Linked DNA regions of Homo sapiens: region 1 is linked to region 2. Evidence: promoter capture Hi-C in human tissues and cell types (Jung and others, 2019). All regions are on one chromosome and are shown on one strand. The core of a region is centred on a gene start or on the middle of the fragment in contact, and the rest is flanking DNA. Distances in the headings are between cores, read along the strand shown. Region 1 has its middle 11 kb from the start of OR1J1. Region 2 holds the start of OR1L1 (olfactory receptor family 1 subfamily L member 1).

Evidence for each region. Contacts are between HindIII fragments. The study calls those that stand out against the background at their distance.
Region 1: a contact is called between a fragment that was not itself captured here and the fragment with the promoter of OR1L1 in region 2, in 5 of the 25 tissues and cell types used here (dorsolateral prefrontal cortex, heart right ventricle, mesendoderm cells and 2 more).

Annotation. Positions count from the first base shown.
Region 1 is chr9:122,486,569-122,491,695 of GRCh38, forward strand. It overlaps a transcript of OR1J2 not described here. Among named protein-coding and RNA genes, the nearest start is that of OR1J1, 11 kb to the left of the region's middle. The HindIII fragment of the contact is 4,254 bases long and covers 1,751-5,127 here.
Region 2 is chr9:122,658,901-122,663,924 of GRCh38, forward strand. It overlaps OR1L1 (olfactory receptor family 1 subfamily L member 1), which reads left to right and starts at 2,816. Exons shown (of 1, transcript NM_001005236.3): 1 at 2,816-3,748. The coding sequence starts at 2,816. The coding sequence ends at 3,748. The HindIII fragment of the contact is 8,013 bases long and covers 1-5,024 here.

The DNA of each region.
Region 1 (5,127 bases), core at 2,628-5,127, 170 kb before region 2:
ATTAGAATAGCAATCATTCATTAATCACATATTTATTGTGTGAATAATAATATAGGCCAGCTGCTGTGATGCAATTTATATCATATCAGCCTAACAGGATCACAAAATGGCATTATTCTCATCTAACCAATTGGAAAGTAGGGTTTACAGAGTATAAATAATTTGCCTAAAATTCTACATCATGAAAATGATGGGGAGGTCATTCAATCCTGTGTTTGTCTGATTTCAAACTCATGCTGCTAATCATCATGTCGTATTGCCTCCAGCAGAGCATTGATGGAAAAGACATCTGGATATGCACCTGTCATTAAAGAGGTGGAATCTGTAATTTCTTAAAAGCCTTTGCATAGATGTATTGCTTCAGTCTTTAATCAGATGATCAGAAGAGAATAGAGAAACCAGGAAATCAGTTACTGGATTTACGAAGGCAGCTTCCCAGAAAGTAAATTTCTCGGGGTCCCAGGAAAAAAACAAATAAGACCCTGGCCAGTGTTGTTGTTGATACCTATATTCCATCAGTAAGGGAAAGGTTAAGGCAACTATGGTACACATTATTGAAAAGAATATGTAGTCAATAAAATAAATTCATTAAAAGCTTATGATATAATTTTTAAAGGACATAATAGGAAATTGCATGTAGGTATGTTTATAACTATTTATAAAAATGCAGATTATTATTATTTTTTAAACCTTGAAGAATGTGCTCATAGCTGGGATGCAGGCCAGATATTCAGCAAAACTGTGAGAGAACATTTTCCTAAAGAGGAAAGTACAAACACCAGAGAATAATAATAATGATGTCCACCCTAAATTATTTGATGTAATACAAAAATTATATAAACCACCTGGCACATGTGTACTCATCTGCAAGATTTTGGAGGAGATGATTAACACACACACACACACACACACACACACACACAAACTGCTTAATGGAGTCTGTAAGCATTGGTCTTACCTAGTTCAGTGATAAATTCAAATATTGTCAGCTCCTTGGTATGAACCAATCATTCATTTTCTCTCCAAAAGTCTTAGAGCTGGAACAGTGAGAAAAGTCATGAGCTCAACCCTGAAGTGGAGAAGAGGCACATTCTTTGTTTTTCACCAGCCACAAGGCTACAGCAAGAGTATCTCCCTTTACCTGCCTGGATGGGAACCCAGGGGACTGGTGCCAGAAGTCTGTGGTGAGACACAGTTAGGGGCTAATTACTGTATTTCCCTTAATATTCCCAGTTGAAATGTGCCTTTGCCGGACACCAAGGACAGTCAACTCCTATGGGAATATAAATAAGAACTTTTATTATGTACAGATTTTTTTTATTTATAAAGAACTTTCACATCTATAAGATTTTTTAAGCATCACAATAATATTTGATGTAGATAGTATTTTTCCCATTTATTGAGTTTGACAATGTCTCAAAAGTAAATGGTTAAATGAGTATTCAAACATAAACACATTAACTTCAAACCTAAAGCCTGGTTTCATTCTAGGCTTTCTTCCATGTTGCCTCCCTTATATTAGTGAGCTCTATATTTTAAATAATTCTTTTGGGTTTTTTGTTTGTTTGTTTTGTTTTTGTTTTATTTTTGTTTTGAGACAGTTCTGTTGCCCAGGCTGGAGTGCAGTGGCATGATCTCAGCTCACTGCAACCTCTGCCTCCTGGGTTCAAGTGATTCTCATGCCTCAGCCTCCCAAGTAACTGGAATTACAGGTGTGTGCCACCACGTCCAGCTAATTTTTTGTATTTTTAGTAGAAATGGGGTTTTGCCATGTTGCCCAGGGTGGTCTCAAACTCCTGAGCTCAGGTGATCTGCCCGCCTCAGCCTCCCAGAGTGCCTGGATTATAGGCGTGAGCCACCGCTCCTGGCCTATACAGACTTCCTCCTTCCCACATTCAATTTGGAACTGGAAGGAGAGGTGTTACTAGTCCCTGAGGATTAAGAACACTTTTCAAGGACTAGAGATTTATTTTCCTCATGGGAAACACCTGAATACATGCAGGATTTATTTTTGGTTAGTGATGACACATAATAATAGTTGGAACAGACTCAGGGCTCAAAAAGTATTCTTTGACCATAAAAATGAGTGTGAGAATCTTCAGAAACCTGCTACATTCAGGTTGGCAAAAATATAAAAGAGACGGAGAATTAAGTGGAGGAGATTGCTTTTTTCATTATTTCTTTGAATAATTTGTGCATTCATTTACTCATTCAGAAGAATATTGTATAAATATGATGTGGCAAGAATTTTGTGAGGCACTGTAAGTAAAGAAAACACAAGTTTCTTTTTTTAAAATTTATTATACTCTAAGTTCTGGGGTACATGTGCAGAATGTGCAGGTTTGTTATATAGGTATACACATGTCATGGTGGTTTGCTGCACCCATTACCCATCGTCTACATTAGGTATTTCTCTTAATGCTATCCCTCCCCTAACCCCCCCACCCATTGACAGGCCCTGGTGTGTGATGTTCCCATCTCTGTGTCCATGGGAAAACACAATTTTCTGTCCCCAAAGAGTTCCCAATCCATTGAATGAGATCGACAAAACCGTCCACATCAGACACTGTAATGAAGGTAAGAGCCGAGTGCTGTGGGAACACAAAGGGGGGCATCAAACCCAAATTAAAGGCATCAAGCAAGTGTTCTGTGTGGGAAACTTATGAGGGGAGAAGAAAAGACACACACACCATTCCTTTATTCCATATATAAATATATATATATATATTTACACTCGCCAGACTACGGAGGATTCACCACCAGACTGGAAAGCAACAGCCTGGGTTCCAGAGTCAGATACAAAACTCACCAGACTGTGGAGGATTCACCACCAGACTGGGAAGAAACAGCCTGGGCTCCAGAGTCGGCCACTTGTCCGTGCACAGACAAGGAGAGGTTTCATGAAGCTTCGGTGCTAGGGTCTGGGACCCTAGCTCTTTTTGTAAGAAGTTGTTTTGCATGAGGCCCAGTGACGAGGGCCCTTTGCGACTGGGCTCAAGGAACACAAAAAGATCAACTTGTTTTTGCAATTATCTATTGTTTTTCAATAACCAATGTATAGGAATAGATTGAAATAGAGATTTCTCCGAAACAGTGCTGGATGAATGCCTCAAGGGGCTCACACAACCTGTTCCCGGACTTGGTGACCATTGTTTGTGTCCACGTTCAATTGAGTTCAAATTTAATATTTAACTTTTTCTCCACATTGGGCCTCAATTTGATACTCAGTTGTAGGAAAATACCCTTACAGATACATGGGGAAGGCACAGTTGATAGATTACAGATACATGGTAAGCACAGGAGAATTAAAAACGCAATTAATAAAAACCACACCTACGATAGCTTTGCAAGGAGAGTAATATTGTGAGAATTGTCAGGGATAGACACATAACATTTAGTATGCAGTAAGGCACAAACCCCTCCTTGGGCTGTGGTAAGCATATCTAATGCCTCTCGATTTTGCAACACAACAGTGCACGGCTGAGCAAATTCATCTGATAACATAAGTCCAGTGCTACTATCATTAAGAGCTTTTTCTACATGTAAGCTTAATATTTTAATTTGTTGCTGAAGCAGGATTGTACTGGTGGCAGGGGAGAATACTGTGATAGGGTACCATCATCAGGGAGTCTGGCACATTCATAACCAGTGATGTTTGTAAGCATCTAGATTACTGGGGAGGGAATATTATCCCAGATGGTGAATGGAATTAATGGCCATCCCCAAATGCATCTCCCCATCCAATGTGGGGTGGTGAGTGTAAATATATATATATCTCTTTTCCTTTATCCCCTTCCCATTGCAACTTGCTTATTATATCAATTTGCTTATTATATCATTGGCTTGTTATATCTGCATTGCCATTTACGTGGGATAAAGCTTGTTTACCCTTAAAGGTATTTTGTGTGTGTCTTTTCTTCTCCCCTCATGCGTTTCCCACACAGAACAGCAAGTAGGCTTGTAGAAAGTTACAAGTAAGCAGAAACTCAAGAAAATCAAAACAAGTAGAAGGTGATGTCAACAACATAGAGGCAGAGCAGTGAAAGGGAGAGAAACAGAGGAATAGGAAAAGACCTACAGAAGAGAAAGGATGGCAAATTTAGGAAACAATTGTCAGAAAAATTAGAGTGGCTAAAATGTACACTTGAACAGGGGAAGAGGTTCAGGATGAGTCCAGAGAAACTAGAAGGAATAAATCATGCAGGACCTTAGAAGCCATATTGAAGAATTTGCATATTACTCAAAAGGAAAGAAAGAGCCATGGAAGGACTTGATCAGCAGATTGACAATCATACTAAACACAGTTGGTATAGTTCAGGAGTGGATAATGAGCATGTGTTTGCAGTGGGCAGAGGACATGTTGGCAGAGCAGGCATGGGGTAGTGGAATGCAAGACCAGAAGCAAAGAGACTCATTAGGAGAAGATGACAGTCATTTAGGTAAGAGATTATGAAAGTGTGTATAAGAGAGTGACCATGATGTTAGAACTATATTGATTTAAGTCTCCGTAGTCAGAATCTAATGGATATAGTAATTTTGATGTGAGTTGATTTTGATAAGAATGTAGAAAATAAGGAGAACAAAGGAGTTGAAAACCTCTCTAAATTTATGGCTTGGACAGCTGAGTGTATGGTTGTGCTATTCACTGAAGGCAATATAGAAGAAAAAGATTTGAGAAGTTGTATTGCATAGAGTATGAGGTACCTATAGGTCATCCATGAGACAAATTTAGTAGGCAGGTGGATATATTTTGGATAGAGATAGAAATTCATGGACTGTCAACATAGAGGAGGATGAGATTGCCTGAAAACAAATGAGGTTAGTAAAAGCTGAGGAAAAAGAAGAAGGAGGGGAGAGAAAGGGAGGAGAGAAGAGGAAAGGAGAAGGGAGAAAAGCAAGGAAAGGGAAGGGAATAGTTGCTGAGGACAGACCACAGGGAACATTGACAATTAAGATAGTAGCAGAGAAATAAAGCCCCCAAAAGACATCAAATAACAACCAGAGATGGAGAAGGAGAATATAAAAATGTAGAGCCAAGGTTAAGTGCTGAAACCATTCATTGGATTTAGTAATAATGAGGATTTCGGTGACATGACTAGGAGCAATGCAAATAAAAGGTGGGAATGG
Region 2 (5,024 bases), core at 1,566-4,065:
TTGCAGGTTAGGTTTAATAGATGAAGGAAAGGATAAGCAAAGACACAATAGTCTAAATGGGTGAGGGGCAATGAGTCAGAAGGAATCAGATAACCTTGGATTGCAGTTGTACTGGGATATGGGGAAGTTTAAGTCCTAATTTGAGAATTATATCATACACACAAAGTGAGATGTCCCAAATGACCAGAAATATGGATTGCCATAAAATATAAAATATATGTCCCTAGTGGCTGGAGGGAAGGAGGAATGGAGAATTGGTGTTCAGGGAAAATATATTTTCAGTTATATAAGATGAATAAGTCCTAGAAATCTGCTATGCAACATTTTTCCTATTATTAATGATACTGTGAACTAAAAATTTGTAAACAGGGTAGATCTCATGTTAAGTTTTCTTACCACAATGAAAGAAAAAAGAAAAGAAGAAATAAGAGAGTAGAAGCCTTATCCTTCTCATCCATTCAGCTCATCTGTCAGAATCCCTCCCCCATCACTTCCACCTGCTTAGAGCCATCTCTTTGTAGGAGGAAAACAAACATCACCTTAAATTTCAAGTAGTGAGAGCAGGAGCCATTTCAAATACATGACAATCTGAGTTCTAGAATGGTTCCAGTGAGGATTACTTTCTTACTTTCAAACAGATCCACACAATAAACTAGAGTGGCCAACCACTTCTTTTTTTTTTTTTTTTTTTGAGACGGAGTCTCACTCTGTTGCCCAGGCTGGAGTGCAGTGGCGTGATCTCGGCTCACTGCAAGCTCCACCTCTCAGGTTCATGCCATTCTCCTGCCTCAGCCTCCCGAGTAGCTGGGACTACAGGTGCCCGCCACTATGCCCAGCTAATTTTTTTGTATTTTTTTAATAGAGACGGGGTTTCACCGTGTTAGCCAGGATGGTCTCGATCTCCTGACCTCGTGATCCACCCACCTCGGCCCCCCAAAGTGCTGGGATTACAGGCGTGAGTCACCGCGCCCGGCCCCAACCACTTTTTTTGAAAGTTGCTTTAACAATAAAAATATCGATCTGGTTTGCTTAATGTTTGTGTGTTACAACTGTAATAAAATTAATAGCTAACGCTATATATATATGCCCTGATGGCTTTCCTGAGTGAGAAGCAAGGGTCATACATAAGTAGACTTAAGGATGCTTCAGACAGAAGAGTAAAGATTCCAGGCCTAGGGTCTAAAGTCTTAACCCTATTGCTTATTATATTTTAAAGTTCTAAGAACAGTGTCTAGCAAGGGACTGCTTCTAACACTGGGAGATGGGAAAGTGACTAGTGGCATAAGATGTTCTAGTTGTTTTAGCTTGATGATCAACGAATTCCGAGAAAACGTTCTCCAACCCCACATTCTGTCTTTCAATGTAAGCAGCACAGCGGTGAGGCTCAGGAAGTCTGTCACTTGAGCCAGCCTCACACAGGTGGGGTCTTTTTCACCAAAAGGAGTTAGGTCAGGAGGGTGATTTCTGAGAGAGAGAGAAGGCACTGACACTCCCCAGGCTCCTTGGGGAAGAAACTCCAAAACCGTAATAGTTCTTGGCTTGTTTTCTGCTGTCTTCTCCATCTGAACTCCAGGGACTTCTTGATGATCTCAAAGGATGCTCCCTTGACAGAGGGTGGGGTCTATGAGTGTCTTTAATCTCTTCAGCATGTGGGAGGCCCAGAGGAGGAAGAGAGGAAAATCTTCAGCTTCATGAGGGTTGAAAGCTTGTCTAGAATCAGGTGCCTTCTCTGTGTGGTTTTTTGGGGAAGCATATATATAACTGAGACTGGAATTGGGAAAAGAATTACACCAACACAGACAAGCATGCACTAACAATGACGATTTTAGCATTTAGGGGCTGGATAACAAAAATGAGGTTTATGTTACATTAAAAGAAATGTTGGCCGGGTGCGGTGACTAATGCCTGTAATCCCACCACTTTGGAAGGCCAAGGTGGGCGGATCACTTGAGATCAGGAGTTCGTGACCAGCCTGGCCAACATGGTGAAACCCCATCTCTACTAAAAATACAAAAATTAGCTGGGTGTGGTGGCACAAGCCTGTAATCCCAGCTACTCAGGAGGCTAAGGGGGGAGAATCGCTTGAACCCAGGAGGCAGAGGTTGCAGTGAGCTAAGATTGTGCCACTGCACTCCAGCCTGGGTGACAAAGCAAGACCTTGTCTCAAAAAAAAAAAAATAAGGAAAAGAAATGTTTTTACTATCCTGTTATTTCTGTCTATCTTTTGCCTCTTCATACCTATCCTTTCACTCAAATAAGGTTTCACTAAAAAATGAGGGAAATGGAGTAACTGTTGGGTAATCTCATATTTCAATGTCTTTTTACATGATTGCCAGCCTCCAGAATAACTGATGCAGACAGAAGTATCCGAACTAAGGGAAATCATTATTCCATCAGCTGGAAATTGAGAGATGAAACTTTTTTAAACCTGTCATAAACTAATTACTGAAAACCGTGAATACGATAAATATATACAGAAAAAGAAGAGAATAATTTCTCCAGGATTCCCCTCCTCTCCTTCTGGGAATTCTCTTGCACTCACTCCTTCCTCTTGCCCTATATCTCTTCTTTTCTCTTTTTCCCATTTCTGTTTCCCTGTAATTTGTTTCTTTATAGCAGGCAACTGAGATTAAAATATATATTAATTTCTAAATATCCCACATTAATGGAAAGAAACCACAATCCAGATAATTGTAATGTTTTAAATTTTTTCTTTGCTGATAAGAAGAATAAAAGGAGAAATTTTGGACAGATTGTATCAGATGTTGGAAGAATCTGTTACAGTGTTAGTTTATCTTTAGGTGAACCCACAACTATGGGAAGAAATAACCTAACAAGACCCTCTGAATTCATCCTCCTTGGACTCTCCTCTCGACCTGAGGATCAGAAGCCGCTCTTTGCTGTGTTCCTCCCCATCTACCTTATCACAGTGATAGGAAACCTGCTTATCATCCTGGCCATCCGCTCAGACACTCGTCTCCAGACGCCCATGTACTTCTTTCTAAGCATCCTGTCTTTTGTTGACATTTGCTATGTGACAGTCATTATCCCTAAGATGCTGGTGAACTTCTTATCAGAGACAAAGACCATCTCTTACAGTGAGTGTCTGACCCAGATGTACTTTTTCTTAGCCTTTGGAAACACAGACAGTTACCTGCTAGCAGCCATGGCCATTGACCGCTATGTGGCCATATGTAATCCCTTCCACTACATCACCATTATGAGTCACAGATGCTGTGTCCTGCTTCTGGTTCTCTCCTTCTGCATTCCACATTTTCACTCCCTCCTGCACATTCTTCTGACTAATCAGCTCATCTTCTGTGCCTCAAATGTCATCCATCACTTTTTCTGCGATGATCAACCAGTGCTAAAATTGTCCTGTTCCTCCCATTTTGTCAAAGAAATCACAGTAATGACAGAAGGCTTGGCTGTCATAATGACCCCGTTTTCATGCATCATCATCTCTTATTTAAGAATCCTCATCACTGTTCTGAAGATTCCTTCAGCTGCTGGAAAGCGTAAAGCATTTTCTACCTGTGGCTCTCATCTCACAGTGGTGACCCTGTTTTATGGAAGCATTAGCTATCTCTATTTTCAGCCCCTGTCCAACTATACTGTCAAGGATCAAATAGCAACAATTATCTACACCGTACTGACTCCTATGCTAAATCCATTTATCTATAGTCTGAGGAACAAAGACATGAAGCAGGGTTTGGCAAAGTTGATGCACAGGATGAAATGTCAGTAAAAGACCTAAGGTCTTAAGAGAATACCACAGATCTCTTGCCCTGGACTATAGGTTATTAATGGGTATGTGATTCTGAAATGATTATTAGATTCTGAAAGGATAGTACCTTCAATGATGGTGTTTCATTCCTTACAGAAGAATGTTTATTGCATGTATTGAAGCTACTCCTGAATATAATGCCTACAAACTAAGTTGGATCACTGTAATCTCCTGAGTATCCCTATTCATGCAGCTGGGTTTTCTTGTATAGTAATGTAAAGCTGCTTGAATGTCTTTGAGCTACTCTGTGTGTGTGTGCGTGCGTGTGTGCATGTGTGTGTGTATGTGTGTGTGTGTCGCTTCATCATATTAGCCCAGGGGCTCCTCAATAACGAGGTCTCTCTCTTTCTCCCATTATAAATGTCAGAACTGTGACTCCTTCCTCTGCATTTCCTCAAAGATTAAAGCCTGGCTTCTATAGTTGTCATAGTCTCAACAAATAAAATCATCCCACTAGATAACTCTTAGTGAATCAGTGCCAGGTCAGGTTCCTAAGAGTATGGCATCTCAGTATTCTTCCTGCTTCCCACCTGGCAAAGCTGACTGTACCTTAAATCTCTCATTAATTTCATTTGACCCAAACTCAACTGCACTGTTTTCCCGGGAGGTATGTGTTAGGTCCCAGTAACCTTAGTAGCAGATGCCTCCAACTGCTGGGGCAGTTCTCTTCCTTAACAGACTTTGAAGACAGTCTTCCAACCAGAAAAACAAATTGGGTAGGAAAGAAACACTTTTGCTCATTTGTGAGTTCTGAGAAATATTAGTCACTGCTAGTCCATGAATTATCTTGCAACTCAGAGATTTATGAATTCATTTGCTCTTTCAACAAATTTCTACTTCTGATACACCATGAACCAGCCTACTGGACTTAAAAACAAAGATAATGTACTACATGATTTAAGTCAACAATCTGAAGGCCAAAGATCAGCAGGGTCTAAGGAAACAAAATAACACAGGCAATACAAGTATTTGGAGGGCAATTTCCTGTTAATTGGATTGTTTTAGGTTTGCAAGGTACAGAGAAACACACATACTTTTAAGTAACAGATGTCAAATAAAAATCCAATCTGGTCTTAGGTAAGGAGAGATATTACTGCAAAAGTGGGGAAATGGTCTATAGCAATAATGCAAGGGAGACTATTACACTAGGGAGAATGTCTCAATTGTGAGACCAACAAAAGTGTCAAATGTCAGACAGAAAAGGAATTTTCTTTCATAAAGAGAAGTGAACATGAAT